Linked DNA regions of Homo sapiens: all the other regions are linked to region 4. The links are contacts of gene promoters, found by promoter capture Hi-C in blood cells and fetal thymus (Javierre and others, 2016). All regions are on one chromosome and are shown on one strand. The core of a region is centred on a gene start or on the middle of the fragment in contact, and the rest is flanking DNA. Distances in the headings are between cores, read along the strand shown.

Region 1 (2,700 bases), core at 186-2,685, about 30 Mb after region 4:
CGGGCCCTGGCTCCTGGCCCCGCCCTTGGTCCCGCCCCGGGCCCCTGGCTCCTGGCCCCGCCCCAGCCCAGGCAGGTCACTGCGCCATTTCCTGTCCAAAGCTGGGCGAATCAGGTCGGTGCCGCGGGGTACCCCGGAATCCCCCCTGGGAGCTGGTCCTGCACTGGCCTTCAGAGCCGAGCAGAGGACGCTGCTTTGGGCCCCAGAGCATGGGAAGGTCTTGGCTGCGGTCTGGGACGGCTGCGGTCTGGGACCTGCATGGAGGGCCCGGGACTTGCGGACGCCTGGGAGCGGTTGCTGGGCAACAGTGCGTGCGGCCTGGCCTCTTTGCGCCCGGCGGGCAGCGCGCGTCTGGGGCAGGCTCCGCGCGGGGCTCGGGCACAGGTCCCCGCTGCCGCAGCCCTACCGAGTGAAGCACTGAGCGCGGCGCCGCTTCGCCATCACCTGGCTCTGGCCCTCTCACCCTAGCGTAGGGGGGCACTGGCCAGGCAGTGAGGACCCTGAGATCCATGCCCTGGGAGACAGAGGTTGTCTCCTGTCCATGCACCCGCGCGCCTGCCTTCTAACCTTCATACCGTTGGGCAGATTAATTCACTGGACTAGGCCTCTGTTCCGTGGGAGTTGAAAAGATTTGACCTGGAAGAAACCCTAGCGATTATTCAGTTAAGCCGCAACCCCACCCCCTGTTTTATATAGGTAAGGGTGCTTCACGGTGAGGACTCGTCGCGTGCCTGGTGCTTTACATCAGTCCCCAGAATAGTCCTCGTAGTTTCTCTCTTACTGTTCCCATAGTATGGGTGAGGACTCTGAGGCTCGGAGAGGTTGTGAATTTAGCCAGAATCACACAGCTTGTAACTGGTGGAGATGAGGACACTGAGACTCGATTAAATCACTCGTAGTTTGTTCGTGGCAGATTACGTGTTAGAAGCGTGTTACACTACTATGAAACCTGGCCATAAATGAGAATCACCTGGAAAGTGTTTAAAATCTATATTCGTGTCTGGGCAATGTCCCGGGTTTACTGACTTGAAATCTCGGGCTACGGCTGAGGAAGCTGTATATTTAACAATCTTCCCGATGATTTTTATGATCTGTGGATGAACCACTGAGTACTGCTGGGTACACCACGGGGCCTTCTCGCACAAAAACAACTGTAAAATAATATCTGAGGTACCTAGAGCAGAAGAGACGCTGGTGAGCATGGTAACATTATGTTCTAATCCCTTCAGTCAATTTGTACCCTTTCTTCACTCTTCAGAAACAAGCCAAAGGCAGATTTTAAACAAGTATGGACATTTAGATGCAAATTGCCCCAAGTTTGTTACCTGTCACACATCCACATTTAAGCTTCTGACTAGACCAGCCTGTCATGATCAAAGTCAGGTGTTAGTGTATTTCTCTATCCTTGGCAACCTGTCATCTGCTCTCTTCTCATCTCCATGCCAGGTCCCTAAATCGCCGGGGTTGATGTTGGCTTTGGAAGAACTATTTGCAGAGCGTTTTCTGCACTGGAAGGAGGGCTGGAAGCTTTCTGGAAGCATTGCCGCACGTAAATGAGTGCCTCTTGGCCTAAAACAGCAGTTGGAATGAAAGGGATCACCCTGCTGTTATTCATTGACATAAACAAAACTGTCATAAAAATAATCACTTGGCTCTTAGTTTTAGAAGGCTAATAAGCCTGACCGTTCTGTTTAGTGCTTTATTATTATTAATTTCACCATTATGCTGCATCCCTTAGGGATTCCGGTTCACAATGGATGCTGATAAAGAGAAAGATTTGCAGAAATTTCTTAAAAATGTGGATGAAATCTGTAAGTACTAGTAAATCATAAATTAATTTCTGCTTTAGAGAAGTGGAGTAGATAAATGATTGCTCTAAGTTCCTGGGTGGCTTGACAGGTTTATAACTCTTAGGAAAAAAATGTAATTGAAATTAAAGAGAAGGGTATTGAGAAACAAGTTATAGCCTCAGGGCTGTATTTTCTGGCTGTTAATTGGTATCAGAGAAACTGTTAACATTCTGATAGGAATTCAGGCTGACGGTTTTCTTCCATATTTTGTATCCTTCTATGTGGAATCCAGTCAAAACCAGCTGCTGTTTCCCCATTGACAATGAACCCAGCTGTTCCCTTCAAGGGTCAAGAACCTCATTGATCAGTGTGAGATTCCTCCCGTTTTAGAGTAGAGCCATTTCTGTTTTAGAGCTGCAGAGGCAAAATCAAATGGCTTTCCTTTAGGATCCATCAAATTACATGGATGGTTTATGATCATCATTCCCTTCTCTCTCTCTAGACAAGAAAGTCCTTTCCCAAGTTCAGGCAGGTTGGATCTCAAAGAAATGTACTCTGATCCCACAGATCACATTCAGGAATTTCCAAACCTGTCAGTCCCTGTTCAGGGAGCTTGCTTGAGTATAGAAACAAACAAACCAACAAGCAAACAGACCTTACATAGTAAATACAGGCAATATGCTGAAATTGCTGCTTGTAGCAGATTGTATGGGTTCAAGGAATAAAGTGGTTTTAAAGCTAGCTTGGGTGACATCGTAAATGATACATGAATAATGCTTATCCCTGAATGCTGTTCCATGGAGCTCTGGCCTTGGCCCACTGCCACCTTTCTCTTCAGCTGGTCTAAACATGTAGCTTTACCTGCCACCTGTTTGTTCATGACCCCCACATCTACATGGACACTTAGCCT
Region 2 (2,700 bases), core at 67-2,566, about 40 Mb before region 4:
TCTGTGTATCTTTGCTGCCTATTTGTAAAAAATTTGCTTTGCCTGACTTACTGTTTGAGTGTTCTGCCTCACCAGATTAGAACTAAGAACTATTGCAAGAACCACTCAAGAGTTTGGCTGTTCAAAGTTTATAAAATAATATCACAAAGCAGCATAGTATTGTCATATTACTGACAGAATTCAGAGGTGGCAAACAAGTTGACAGACATTTTTGCAGGCTAGGATTTCAACTGTATCTTAAATAGATTTGAGAAAGCAGCATGAGGAAAGGATTTTAGGCAGGGAACAGGAGCAAAAGTATGTCTAAATTAGTCTGTGATACTTAAAACAGTTCAGTGAAAGACTAGAAGAATGGTACTTGGCAGTCAAGATCTGTGGTAGGCAAAATTCTAAGATGATACCCAATGGTCCTTGCCCGCATAAAATCTCCCCTACGTATATTAAAACATCATGTTGTACACTAAATATATACAATTTTGTCCATTTCACCTTAATAGAGTAGAAAAGGGGGAAATTTCCTAACTTGACTATGTGGGTAAAACATGAATACGATATCACTCCTGTGATCATAGGTTTGGATGTGGTTAGGGCCGCCAAAACTCATGTTGAAATTTGGTACCCAATGTGGCAGTGTTGGGAGATGGGGCCTAGTGGAAGGTTTCTGGGTCATGGGGGTGGATCTGTCATGAACAGATTAATGCCCTCACGGTGGTGGGGGGGGAGGTGAGTTCTTGCTCTCTCAGGAATGAATTAGTTCTCGAGTGTGGGTTGTTAAAAGAGTTTGGCTTTCTTGATTTGTCTCTCTTGCTGCTTCTCTCAACATGTGATCTCTATGCACACCCACTCCCCTTCTGCTTTCCTCCCTAAGTGGAAGCAGCGTGAGGCCCTTACCAGATGCGGCTGCCCAATCTTGGACTTTTCAGCCACCAGAATCATAAGCCAATTAAACCTCTTTTCTTTATGAATTGCCCAGCTTTAGGTATTCTGTTATAACAACACAAAATGGACTAAGATAATGTTATATGGCAAACGAAATTTTTGCAGATGGCATTAAAGTTACTAATCAGTTGAATAAAAAGGGATATTATTCAGATAGACCTTATCAACTCACATGAGCCCTTTAAGTCTAGGCTTAGAGATAGAGGAATTCAAGAGATTTCAGCAGTGGAAATATTCTGCTTGCCTTCAAGGAATAACTGCCATTGTGAGAGCCACATGGCAGAAAACTGTGGGTAGCCTCAATGTTAATGGCCACAATCAGCAGCCAGTAAGAAAATGGAGCCCTCAGTCCTACATTGGCAATAAATTGAATTCTGCCAAGGACTTGAAGAATGAGCTTGACTGAGGAACCCCAAGCCTCAGATGAGATTGCAGCCTTGATATGAGCCTTGTGACACTGAGCAGAGAACTCAGTCACACCACAGCAGAAGACTTTTGCCCCAAGGAAACTGTCAGATAATGTGTTAAGCTAAGTTTGTGGCAATTGTTACACAGCATTAGAAAACTAATACAGGATCCCAAAAGATAAGAGTTATCATCTACAGAAAATAGGTGGTATAATAAAGCTATAGAAGCTATAATTCCACCCCTTTAGAGGTTAACTTGTGAAGGTCAAAGAAATTGCTGATAGCAAAATATGTGATGCTGGGGCCTTTCTCAAATTCCTCACTAACATTCATTCATTCTCAGGCTCTCAGATCTAGAGTCAGGTGGATCTGAGTCCAAACCTGAGCTCTACCACTTAGCAATATGATCTTGGCCAACTTACTTAACTAGCCAGAGCTTGGTAAGTTGTGACGATTAATAGGAACTATGCATGTACAGGACCCAGTACGTATTAAACACTCAAGAAATGTTAGATGATGATGATGTCAGCTTTATACACAAGAAATAGGGTTGACCTCTATGCCCCAAAAATAAGATGCTGAGACAAAAGGGATTCCATCATTTGCCACTTCTCTATTTTAAAATTCTGAAACACTCCCTATTGCCTATGTCTAAACTCCAAGAAACTCTTAAAACATGCCACTGACTTCACCTTTTCGTTTCTTGAGACGGATTCTCGCTCTGTCACTTAGGCTGGAGTGCAGTGGTGTGATCTCGGCTCACTGCAATCCCCGCCTCCCGTGTTCAAGCAATTCTCTGCCTCAGCCTCCCAAGTAGCTGGAATTACAGGTGCCCGCCACCATGCCCGGCTGATTTTTGTATTTTTAGTAGAGGCGGGGTTTCACCATCTTGGCCAGGCCAGTCTTGAACTCCTGACCTCAGTGATCCATCCACCTCGGCCTCCCAAAGTGCTGGGATTACAGGCGTGAGCCACCGCGCCCGGCCAACTTCACCTTTTCACTTATTATTCTGCCTGAACCAGCACCTGAGCTCCAAACCTTTTTTTCACCTGGTTGGTTGCTCTCTCCTGTACATATGCATTCATACACCCCCATTATCCTGTATTTTAATTGTTAACCTGCCAATAATATCTCACTATATTGCACACTGCCCAATGGTTACATTTCCATACCCAGAGACTATCAGAGTACCAGGCAAAAAGCAAATAAGCCATATATTTTTAATGAAATGAATGTTCAGTCTTCAGGCCTTTAAGAAAAGCTGTTCCTGGAATGAAGAAAAAAAAAACACCAATGCTGTGGTTGTTTCTACATTTCTATAGCGTGGTGTTTAAACACTTAGCAACTGCTCTCC
Region 3 (2,700 bases), core at 160-2,659, about 51 Mb after region 4:
AATGTGCTAGCCACATAAAAAACAGTCAATAGATGGTATTTATTATTTTTGCTATGGATGAGTGTTAAAATAATAGATATGTAAAATGTAAAATGCTACAGAGCTTAATAGGGAATAGTACTGGGGGAGGAGGGAGAGGAATAAGATGATTCTTCAATTGGACCTGAATGTAAGAGTTTTGCCAGGCAAATAAATGCAGAAAAGTGCCTCCCAGCAAGCACAGTGTAACAAAGCACACAAAGGGAAAGAAATTAAAGTGTTTCTAAATGAACAAAATTGTTACAGTGTTTGCTTGTGGGTATTAGTATCTGTTCAGCAGTTATTATGTGGCAAGTACAAATTTATCTTTACAAAAACCCCTGTGAGGTAGATATTGTACTCCCCATTTGACAGATCAGAAAACAGGGGTTTAGCAAGGATAAACAACCTGCACGGTAATACATGGATGCTATGGGGTAGAGCCAAGGGAACAATCCAAGTGTGTCCGACTCCAAAGGTTATGCTCTTGGAAAATCAAACTGGAGAGAATGGCAGCTCTTATAAAGCATGCCAAGGATGTGGTCATTTATTTAGGAAACAAAGGGGAAACATTAAAGGTGTACAGGCTTGACACATTCAAAGCTGTGTTTTCAAAAGTCGTTCTGCAAAAGTGTGGGGGATGGGCTGGCACAGTTAACATCAGAAAGCAGCTAAAATACTCCTGCAATTGCTCGAGGCTATGATGAAGGCAGCAGCATCAGGAATGGAGCGGGGCTGCCCTGAGACACCTCAGAGGCAGGACAGTGGTAGTGGGCATGAAAGGGGAAGCAGAAATGCCATGACTCCTGGGTTGGTGGCTTGGATGGTGCCATTAGCAGGCTTTGGGAATCCCATTTTCACTCATGTGACGTTTGATGATGTCTGCATGTGAGACATCCAGTGGAACCTATGAACATGAAGTTCAAGAAATAAGTCTGGCGGAAGAAAGAGATTTGCAATTTAAAACCATCTTAATAGGTAAGAATAGATAGGTGCACGAAGACACGCACAGGAAGAAGGGGAAGGCCGAGAAAACAGATGCACAGGCGCTAGAAGAGACTGGCCAACATTCGCTTATTCTAAGGGTGGCCTGGCCGGCTTGAGCCCCCACGGGAAACCTGGCTAGCCGCAATCCTGGCGTGGCACGGCCCTGGGGACCCCAGGCACCGCCGACAGCCGGGCGCCCCCACCCCGCCCCCACCGGCACCCCGGCCCGGGCTTAGGCATCGTCGGGGACGCATAGGACCCTCGCCCTGGCCCCCGGGCCTCCCGGCTGCATCTGCTCACCGAGTCTAAGATCCAGCGGACACCAGGGCTGCAGGCCGCTACCAAGGCCCCGCAACGCCACCATGATCCCAGGGCACCGGCTCGCCGCCGCCGTGCTCAACTTTCAAAGCTCGCTCCCGCGCGCGCGCCGAGTCGTTCCTGTGGACCAATCACAACGTACAGAATTTCCCACTGGCCAACCACCGCGCCGAGCCGTTTCCATTCGCTCAACCAATCACCGGCGTCGTCCGCCGCACGCTCAGAGAACTGGGCGGGCCGAAAAGTGGAAGCCAAACAAGGCTCCTGCGGGTGTTCCGCTAATTCGTTCGAGAAGGAGCCAGGGCCTGAGTTAAACCCTAACAGCGTTTTTCCCGCCTCGTTTTTCTTCAATGGGGGAAAATCTAAAGGGTATCTGAGATAGGGTACTTCCGGTAGTAACTGTCACCTTTGCCCTCGTCAGGCGACATTTCGCGTGCGTGTCAAAGGGCTGCCTTTCCCGTCAGCACTCGAACAGCGTAATATCCGAATGTGAAAGGCAGCCCAACGTGTATCGAGCTAAAGTAATAAGGGAAAAGTAGCCGAAAGCACTCCGAGAAGACAAGACAACTGCAGTTCTGTAGGGACTGCGCGGCACGCGTGGGCCCAGAGCCTGTCCCAGCGAGGTAGCAGCTGCCATGCCGACCGCTGGAGCGCCGGCCGCGCTCTCCCTGCGCATGCGCAGCGAGCTCTCCTCCGGGCTGCCGGGAGTCCCAGGAGCGTTAGGGGGTGCGCCTGCGCGCCGCTGCTCCAGCGCATCCGGGCTGGAGCTCGCCCGCCCCCTCCCCCGCCCGGAGCCGCCGAAGCGCCTCGGTGCGTTGCACCGCCGGAGGCTGGGCAGCTCGCAGCGCTGCTCGGCGCTGGACCCCACCCGGCAGGCGCAGGCCACCCACACCCGGCTCTGTGCGGCTGCCCCCCGCAGCATTGCACGGCCGACCCTCGCCCGCCCACTGCCACCGGCCGCGGGACTGGCTGGGACTGGCTCGGCCGAGGGCACTGCTCCTCGGTGCATTGCTGCTCGGGCGCCGCAGCCCGCAGCCGCCAGCCTCCCCCGGCCGTGCCCCTCCCCCGTGGAGCCGGCTGTCCGTCGGCGCCCACTGCCCGGCGGCAGCGGCGGAGCCAGGCAGCCCCGCGGCGGCCGAGCGCGCTCGCGCATCGGGCCCTCTGGCCTTCTTTACCTAGGGCAGCCCGCGCCCCGGTGCGAGGGAGCGGTCCTTACCGAGACCCGCCCGGCCCGGCGGTGCGATGAGCTTCTTCGGCTTCGGGCAGAGCGTGGAGGTGGAAATCCTTCTGAACGATGCAGAGAGTAGGAAGCGGGCCGAGCACAAGACGGAGGACGGGAAGAAGGAGAAATATTTCCTCTTCTACGACGGGGAGACG
Region 4 (2,700 bases), core at 116-2,615:
GCAGTTTTGACTGCAGCTGTTACTGGTGTGGATTAAAATGAAACAATGAGCAAAATAGCACAAGTAACAATATGGAGTATAAATAACAGCGTAGAAGTGTTTGGGTACCGAATGGCTCAGCGTACCTGGCACTGAAGATTCAAGAAGGTGAACAGAGATAAGAGGTGCCTATTCGCCTATTTTGTGGACAACCTTAAAACGGTTTAAAAACTGGGAGGGAAGTTAAAAAACTGGGGGTGAAAAACAACGACGACAACAAAAACCTAGCCCTAGAAACATTTCTCTGAATAAAGTTAGATGTCTTCAGGACACCCTGTTAACAGGGGTGCCAACAGGTTGGAAACTTGTGGGTTCCAGTATTCACTTATTTTCCCAAAGTCTACAATGTGACTGAAATGTACTGAGAATTCCAGTGAGAATAAGGCAGACGTGGCCTGAAATTTATGATGCTGTCTACCAAAAACCTGGGCTCGAGGCCAGCACCTAAAAAAACAAAATCAAAATTTGATCAGGCCACAAAAGAAAACAGGACACCCTCAAACACAGATTACCTTACGTTGGCTCCTGACGAGATTACTAGCCTCTTGTCACCAAAAAACGGAAACAACGGCTGAGAAAGAAGCCGGGCGCGAAGCCCAGGCCTTCAAAGGTTCGCTTTAAGAACAGAAAGGCAGTGCTTTCCTCAGTCCTCGCCCCTTGGGGCGAGCTGGGCAAGTCGGGGCAGCAGGCAGCGGCGTCGCCCAGCACAAGGCGTGAATCCGGGAGGAGGGCGTGGCACCTTCTCTTCCCGTTCGCTCGAGCAGGCGCGACCCCACGGGCATCGTCTCCCTAGAGAGCACTCAGGCATCTATGACACGACGCCTTGCCTCACCTCTCCGCAGGGCCGGCGAGAAATGCCCGCGGGGCCTTGAAACCCAACGATCTCCTCTGCCTTGGGAGAGAAAGAGCCGCCAAGCCTGGCGACTATTCATGTCCTCAGAGTTTTCCGGTGGGAGGGAGGCGGAAGACGGGGTAAATCTCGCACAGGCTTTCGGGCAAGGTAGTTCTGGCACCACAGGAATGCTGGGAATTGTAGTTTTCGCTCTGTCACAAGCTCACCTCCCAGCGCAGGCGCCACCGTGGTCCCACGAAACTGGGTCTCTTCACAGACAGACCCACAGTTCGCGAGCATGGCTCAGCGCTGCCCCGCTTCTCCCAGCGCCCCTTCCCGACCTTTGAACGCCTTCACCGCCCTAGGAAAGCGAGATCTTGTCAGAGAACCTTCCGGCGCCTGTTTCCTGGCAGTGGGGCATAGTCCAACAGCTGGCTCCCCCAAGATAGCCAGCGGCCATTACGCGCTTGGGTCGGGGGAGATGGAGTCGCATTTAGCCGCACAGCAGCCTGGAACCTGAAGTTTTCGGCCGCTGAGCGTTCTGGGTGATTGCGTAGTGCGAGGGCCAACGAAACCTTCTGGGAAGTGTAGTCCAGCAAGCCGCTCACTTTTCGTGAGGCGTCACATCCTGCTGCTTCACCCTCTGGTGCACGGGAGGACCAACTATTTCAGTCGGTATGTCCTTTCTTTAGGGAAGCCGAATTCCTCCGTTTCTAGGAGAAATTCCTTGAATTTTCACCATTTATCCTTCTCAGACCTCAGTTACTCAAGACTGCTCCGCATAGTAAAATGCTGAAAGCAACAATGCACAGTAGTTGTATTAAAATGCACTAATACTCATGAATATTCTCTGTAAGTTGTAAAATGGCACACAGTTGTGCGGTGTTAGTGGCTTACTCTCTCAAGATTCTAAACAATTACGGCTAGGTTTCTATCTATATGTATTCAAAGCTTTGTGAGAGTCAACTAAGTAACAAACACCATTTCTAAGGCCCGAAGCACATTGAAAGAACAAAACTTGATTCCCGCCAACAACTGCTTTAACAGACAATTCATGAAGAGGAAATATAAATTGCTATTTAAAACACTGGGATGGCTGGGCGTGGTGGCTCATGCCTGTAATTCCAGCACTTTGGGAGGCCGAGGCGGGCAGATCACCTGAGGTCGGGAGTTCGAGACCAACCTGACCAACGTGGAGAAACCCTGTCTATATTAAAAATACAAAATTAGCCGGGCGTGGTGGCACATGCCTGTAATCCCAGCTACTCAGGAGGCTGAGGTAGGAGAATCGCTTGAATCCTGGAGGCGGAGGTTGCAGTGAGTCGAGATCACACCATTGCACTCCAGCCTGGGCGACAGAGTGAGACTCGATCTAAAAAAAAAAAAAAAAAATTGGGAAAAAAGTTTGATCTTACCAGTTTCAAAATACAAAACGCAAAACCTTAGGGTATATCGAGGTTAGGGGTCCCAATGATCCCAACAGGATGTAAGCATAGTACTCAACAGGTGCTTTTTCAACCCATGCCCCTCTGTCCGTCTCCCCCTTTCCTCATCTAATGATCCTCAATGCCTGTTGTTTCCACGTTTACCATCATATATTCAATGTTTAGCTCCTACTTATAAGTGAGAACATGTGTATTTGGTTTTCTGTTCTTGGCATTAGGTTGCATAGGATAATGGCTCCAGTTCCATCCATGTTGCTACAAAGAGTATAATTTCCTTATTTTTATGGCTGCATTATATTCCATGGTGTATATGTACCACATTTTCTTTATCCAGTCCACTGTTGATGGGCACTTAGGTTGATTTCATGTCCTTGCTATCGTGAA
Region 5 (2,700 bases), core at 186-2,685, about 26 Mb before region 4:
AATCCTTAAAAGGGACCCCCAGTGCTCATCCTCTGCAAAATCCAACACCCCTCCCCTAACGCTGACCCTGCCCCAGGTGTTTCAAAGATGGGAGAGGGTATGAAGACAGTAGAGAAACCCAGTACTGTCAACCCATTGGTCAGTTAACCACCACGGAAGACTGCCCACTGTGGGTGGGTGAATAACTGTGCAGAGCCAGGCCAAGTGTGGTGGGGGGAGGGGCACATGATAGAAAAAATAAAATTAAAACACAAGATTGTTTCCTTGTCCTTGAACATTATTACTAGGAACATAGTGTGGGTGGTTGGAGATGGAAATTAATTGGCTCAGAACCAAAAAAATCCTTTCACCTGGGGTTCTGATGGGCCCCTCTGCGGTATGAGGGGCTGCAGCAATGAAGGCGGGCTCAGAGTCCCCAGGTGCGGAGGTGGCCACAGCAACTCAGAGACCCCAGCCAGGGGCCCCAGGTGACCAAGGCCACCAAGGCTGTGGCCAGAAGCTGCGATTCGCAGCGGTTCTGAGCACTCCCCACCCTCAAGAGACCAGGGGGTAGAGGGTAGCAGGGTAGAAACGAGCTGACCCCTGGCAGATAAGGCCTCCAGAAGGGCTGGGCAGCTCCAGCCCCGGAGGGGACTCGGCGCAGGCGGGGTCGCCCCTATGGACCCCAGGATCTCCAGCCGGATCCGAGGCTAGAGAGGTCGGCAGGGACAGCACGTAAACTGCTGGAAAGAGGGAGGGCCAACGGGAAGATGGAACAGCCCCGGGCAATGGGCTGTCTGGAGGGGCCCAGTGGGGAGCTCTGGACACAGAAGGGACGGCGGCAGCCGAAGAGGAGGAGGAGGAGGGGGCTGCGGTGGCGGCAGAAGCGGAGGACCTGTGAGCGGGCTGTGAAGCAGCCGGCGAACAGACGGTGGGCTGCAGACGTCGATCAGGTGGGGGCGGACTGGGGTGGCTGGGGGCGTGCCGAAGGAGCCGGGGGAGGGGGCTAGCGCGGCCCGGAGGAAGGGGAGGCAGGGGTCCCTCCAGCGGCTCTGCCCGCCCCCGGCCCCGCCCCAAGCCCTCGCCCCCTCCCCCCTTTCTTCTGGCTCTGCCAGCACGAGCTCCAAGCCATGCGCCCTCCGCCTCCGCGCACACGCGCCACCTTCCCCCGGGCCTCCAGCGTCCCCAGCGCCCTCGGCCCCTGCAAACTTTCCTGGTGACCCCCCGACCACCACCACCTCAACCCGAGGTGTCGGCTGGAAAGCACCCACTCCTTCCATGCCCCTCCCCCGCCCCATCCCGGACCCCGCCCCCTCCTTCGCCCGACCGCCCCCGCGCACTCACGCGCTCGCCCGGGGTCCGGCTCCGCTCGGCTCGGGGCCCCGATGCCAGTCCCCGCCGCCGCCGCCGCTGCTACCGCCGCCGCCGCCGCCGTCACCGCGGGACGAAGCCACTGCGAGCCCCGGCGGGGCCCCGCCCCAACTCCGCCCAGGTCCACGCCCCCAGGGCGCTTCATGAATATGCATGAGCCGGTTGGAACCCGGGAGTGGGAAGCCCGTGCAGAATTCGTCCCACCGTCGGCAAACAGGCGCGGCCCAGCACTCAATTATTCATGAGGCTTGCAGATGAGGGGCCCGCCCCAGTCTCAGACCGGGGCGAAACTGACGCAATTCAGCCGGGAGCGCTCGGGTAAAATGGCCACCGAGACGACTGCCTAGAGAAACTGCCTTGGCGGCCCCTCCCGGGCTCCGCCGCCTGCACAGAGCACAGTATCATCGAGCTACGCCGGCAAGAAGGTAGCCGCCGGCTGACTGAAGCGGCTTCCTGATACAACCACCTGAGTGCTGAGAACGCGCGCAACGTGGCCACCCTCCTGTGTCAATTCAGATTTAGAGCCACCGTGAAGAAGTCTGGCAGCTCTGCATTCCTCATTAGTGACCTTTATCTCCTTTTAGGCCCCTTCTCAGACATGGGTTCCTCCCTACACTGAAGTTTGTATACCCCCTTCTTCCCGTAAGAACAAAAGCTTCACATATAACTCCGTACTTTGTTGCACCACCACCAGGCTGCAACCACCACCACTCTACGCACACGCTCATCCTCCCCGACTCTCCAGGCTCAGGTTTCCACTCCCCCGGCTGCGGGAAGGACAGTCAATCCTGATTTCATTATCGAAAGCCTTGGAAGACCCTTGACTCATAGGTAAGGATGCAGCCAAGAGCTGCCTCCCCCTAGCTTGGTTGGCTAATGGAGTGTAACTGGGAGAAACTTCCTAATCAGATCAGCTCTCATTTCTAGACTCTCAGGTGGCCCATCCGGGCAGAGGCGGGTGAAAACCAATGCTCGTCCAGCCGGGAACAGAACAGGATGTACCTCGAGACTTGCTTCCCGGCTGGCCAGGAAGGCCCTGCCCAGTCTGACCAGAGCAGTAAACACCACCAATAAAAGTGGGAGCAACACACCAAGGCTACAAAGAAAGCATGAGGACATGGTTTCCAAAGTCAGTTCCCTTTATTAAATCATTTTCACAGACCAGAAATACAAAATGAAAGTAGAAATAGGCCCCAGGTAGGAGCTACAGGCCTGGCCTCACATGACCCCTGCTCCAGCAACTTGAACAGGACAAGCAGCAGCTACATCCTTAAGGTCGGGAAAGTAAGATGAGGATTTGGATCCTGCATTGCCCTGCCTCCCACCCTATCTCTCCCCAAATTATAAACA
Region 6 (2,743 bases), core at 133-2,632, about 26 Mb before region 4:
GGCACTCTGGCAATGCTAGAGCACTAAGCAGAGAAGAGGCAGTGTTGGCTCTGGTTAGCCAGGGCATACAGGCTCTCCTCGTCCTGTCCTCCGCAGTGGCCACAGGCACCCAGCTGTTCCACTCTCTCTGAAGGCCGCCAGGCAGTCTCTCCGCAAAACCTCCATAGAGACTATCTTCAGTTTCAGGTCCTCTCCTCCGGGCTGGGTCCCAGGAAGACACCTTGGGCTGAGTTCAGGGTGACATTGGGCTCCGGCTGCAGGAAACGGGCCCTCCTTGCCAAGAGACCACCTTTCAGTCTCTGCTTCACAGGTTTGCCTTCAACTTTGCCAGCGAGTTCCCCTCTGACATGCACCACCTTGAAACACCTTCTTCAAGGGGCATGGAGAATGGGGCAGCTTGGGTCCCCAATCCTGAGCTCCTTCTCCAGCCTCCGGCCGTCACGCCTCCCTCCCTCTCCCCTAATTCCCAGTCAAGCCAAGGAAAGGCTGCACAGAAGGCCAGAGAATCACAAAGGGGAGTAGGGGTCATTTTTTCACCCATCTCGGATCACAGGGAGAAGCAAGTTGGGCAAATGACTGGAGAAAAAACAAAGGCAAGCCGAGTGCTGGGGAGAGATGTTCCCCTGAAGTGAGACGGGGCTGGACCGTAGGAGAAAGGGGAGAGGGAGGGCTGGCGGGGGCAACTGACAGCTGACAGCAGAGGCGCCGAGGCGGAGGCTGGAGGAACCAGGTGCGAATCTCGTGCTTCTCAGGGGGGAAAAGAAAAGGGGGGGGACACCTGCTCACAATGGATTTTCTCATCTGCTCTGAGGTTTTGGCACCCCCCAGGCTGGTATTCTCAGTATGGTATGGTCCAAATAATTAGCAGCACCGCCAGCTCCCAGGGCAGGCTTTGGGGGTCTGCACCAGCAGCAAAACAATAAACAGTGATGCCTGATGCTGCAGCCAAAGTTGCCGGGAAATAAGTGCGGGAATCGTCAGAGCTTGGAGAGGGATGGAGGAACCGAGAGAGAGGAGCGGAGGCAGCGGGGAGGGGGAAGGGAGGACAAAGGGTGGATGAATAATGCTTTTGCAAAGGGGAGAAAGCAACACGCAGCAGGAGGAGGAAATTTGCAAAGAGAAAAAAATTCATTTGGAGAAGGGCTGCCCCCTCACCTTGAGGTCTGCTCCAGAGATCTCCGTCTATCTCTCTCTCTCTCTCTCAATCTCTCAATCTCTCTGCTCACTCTTCTCTCTTCTCTTTCCGCTCCTTCAATTGGGAAGGGGATGGGGGTGGGTGGGGGGAGGGTAGTTGGGGGCTCAAGACTGGGGCTGCAAAGCTGGCCAGCTGCTGGGGGGGCAGAGGTTGTCTCTCGTTCTGTACCTCGGTCTGTGGGTGAATGTGGCTGTGTGTTGTGGAACTGCATCATAACACTGTGAGTCATCCATCCCCCCCACCCCCCCTCACCTCCCACGTCAGAGCAGGGCTGGGAGACACAGGAGGCGGGTCGGAAGGAAGGGAGGGGGTAGGCATCAAGGGACGGGGCTAGAGGAGTGGGGGCCGAGGGACAAGGCGGCGATGGTGGGCAAGGGGAGAGGCAGGTTGTTAAGGAGGAAGGCAGTGGGGCCAAGGAGATACGAAGAACCTGGGGGAAGGACAGGGCTGGGCAAGGATGCAGTGAGGGTGGCAGGGCTGGAGGAAAGGAGGTGGCAAGGCTGGTGAAGGAAGAGATGGATGCAGAGTGAGGGAGCACACACACATTTAAGATGATACACTTTCCCATTTCAGCTTGGACACCAGCCCTGAAGCAGGGAAAAGACAGATGTACTAATTGTCATGGATGGCAAACTGTGCCCCCAAACTTGTACCAAGCCTCAAAGCCTTGGTTTAATACTCCTGAAGGAGTAATAGACCCAATGTGACATTTTGCATGCAGGAACCCCTTAACAGCTACCTCCATATTATGCGTGCTTCATGAATGGAGACACCTACGTTATATGAAGTTCTCTATTGGGCTGTAAACTTCCTGAGACAGGCCTTCTGGGAAATTACTCTCTACATCCCAGGACTGCAATGTCCAGTGCAGACCCGTGCATTTAGATGTTTCCAAAATAGCAGTTGTTTCCGCGGCATTATGTTCTGCTGGCCTAGAGGTCTTAGTTCCAGAGGGAGGAATGCTGCCACCAAGAGACACAACAATGATTCCATTAAACTGGAAGTTAAGATTGCCACCTGGCCACTTTGGGCTCTTCTTACTTTTAAGCCAACTTGCTAAGAAGGGAGTTACAGTGTTTGACCCAGACTATCAAGATGAAATCAGTCTACTACTCCACAATGGCGGTAAGGAAGTATGCGTGGAATACAGGAGATCACGTAGGGCGTCTCTTAATATTACCATGCCCTGTGATTAAGGTCAATGGGAAACTGCAACAGCCCAATCCAGGCAGGATGACAAATGGCCCAGACCCTTCAGGAATGAAGGTTTGGGTCACTCCACCAGGTAAAAAAAACATAATCTGCTGAGGTGCTTGCTGAAGGCAAACGGAATTCAGAATGGGTAGTCAAAGAAGGTAGTCATCAATACGAACTATGACCATGTGACCAGCTGCAGAAAATGAGGACTGTAATTGTCATGAGTATTTCCTCCTCCTTTTGTTAGGAACATGTTTGTGCATATATACACTTGTATTAAGAAAATATCTTCATTTTATTTCCTTTCTTTTGCCTTTATCATGTGACATAAGACTTACTGACTTGATATCA

The links. The method cuts DNA at HindIII sites, captures the fragments that hold promoters and counts their contacts. A CHiCAGO score of 5 or more calls a contact.
Region 1: a fragment that was not itself captured here is called in contact with the fragment with the promoter of CCDC90B in region 4 in 1 of 17 cell types (naive CD8 T cells); the score reaches 9.8 in naive CD8 T cells.
Region 2: a fragment that was not itself captured here is called in contact with the fragment with the promoter of CCDC90B in region 4 in 2 of 17 cell types (total CD4 T cells and activated CD4 T cells); the score reaches 9.8 in total CD4 T cells.
Region 3: the fragment with the promoter of NCAPD3 here is called in contact with the fragment with the promoter of CCDC90B in region 4 in 1 of 17 cell types (activated CD4 T cells); the score reaches 7.5 in activated CD4 T cells.
Region 5: the fragment with the promoter of TNKS1BP1 here is called in contact with the fragment with the promoter of CCDC90B in region 4 in 4 of 17 cell types (total CD4 T cells, total CD8 T cells, naive CD8 T cells and 1 more); the score reaches 10.3 in total CD4 T cells.
Region 6: the fragment with the promoter of YPEL4 here is called in contact with the fragment with the promoter of CCDC90B in region 4 in 2 of 17 cell types (fetal thymus and naive CD8 T cells); the score reaches 9.4 in fetal thymus.

The regions. Positions count from the first base shown.
Region 1 is chr11:113,314,505-113,317,204 of GRCh38, forward strand. TTC12 (tetratricopeptide repeat domain 12) reads left to right here and starts at 79. Exons shown (of 22, transcript NM_017868.4): 1 at 79-114; 2 at 1,739-1,811. The coding sequence starts at 1,754. RefSeq lists silencers at 1-139, 163-457, 350-449. The HindIII fragment of the contact is 180 bases long and covers 1,346-1,525 here.
Region 2 is chr11:43,355,150-43,357,849 of GRCh38, forward strand. No RefSeq gene overlaps it. Among named protein-coding and RNA genes, the nearest start is that of TTC17, 2.4 kb to the right of the region's middle. The HindIII fragment of the contact is 3,070 bases long and covers 1-2,700 here.
Region 3 is chr11:134,222,558-134,225,257 of GRCh38, forward strand. NCAPD3 (non-SMC condensin II complex subunit D3) reads right to left here and starts at 1,410. Exons shown (of 35, transcript NM_015261.3): 1 at 1,306-1,410. The coding sequence starts at 1,369. It overlaps VPS26B (VPS26 retromer complex component B), which reads left to right and starts at 2,114. Exons shown (of 6, transcript NM_052875.5): 1 at 2,114-2,700. The coding sequence starts at 2,566. RefSeq lists enhancers at 1,851-1,900, 2,691-2,700 and a silencer at 2,021-2,490. The HindIII fragment of the contact is 9,666 bases long and covers 1-2,700 here.
Region 4 is chr11:83,285,002-83,287,701 of GRCh38, forward strand. CCDC90B (coiled-coil domain containing 90B) reads right to left here and starts at 1,366. Exons shown (of 9, transcript NM_021825.5): 1 at 872-1,366. The coding sequence starts at 971. It overlaps CCDC90B-AS1 (CCDC90B antisense RNA 1), which reads left to right and starts at 1,119. Exons shown (of 3, transcript NR_186344.1): 1 at 1,119-1,546. RefSeq lists enhancers at 139-735, 624-703, 736-1,331, 754-1,403. The HindIII fragment of the contact is 4,800 bases long and covers 1-1,820 here.
Region 5 is chr11:57,323,517-57,326,216 of GRCh38, forward strand. It overlaps TNKS1BP1 (tankyrase 1 binding protein 1), which reads right to left and starts at 1,436. Exons shown (of 12, transcript NM_033396.3): 1 at 1,324-1,436. SSRP1 (structure specific recognition protein 1) reads right to left here. Exons shown (of 17, transcript NM_003146.3): 17 at 2,472-2,700. RefSeq lists a silencer at 1,240-1,519 and enhancers at 1,650-1,699, 1,729-2,602. The HindIII fragment of the contact is 11,807 bases long and covers 1-2,003 here.
Region 6 is chr11:57,648,530-57,651,272 of GRCh38, forward strand. YPEL4 (yippee like 4) reads right to left here and starts at 1,383. Exons shown (of 5, transcript NM_145008.3): 1 at 1,156-1,383. It overlaps MIR130AHG (MIR130A host gene), which reads left to right. Exons shown (of 2, transcript NR_186232.1): 2 at 1,769-2,743. The HindIII fragment of the contact is 14,007 bases long and covers 1-2,743 here.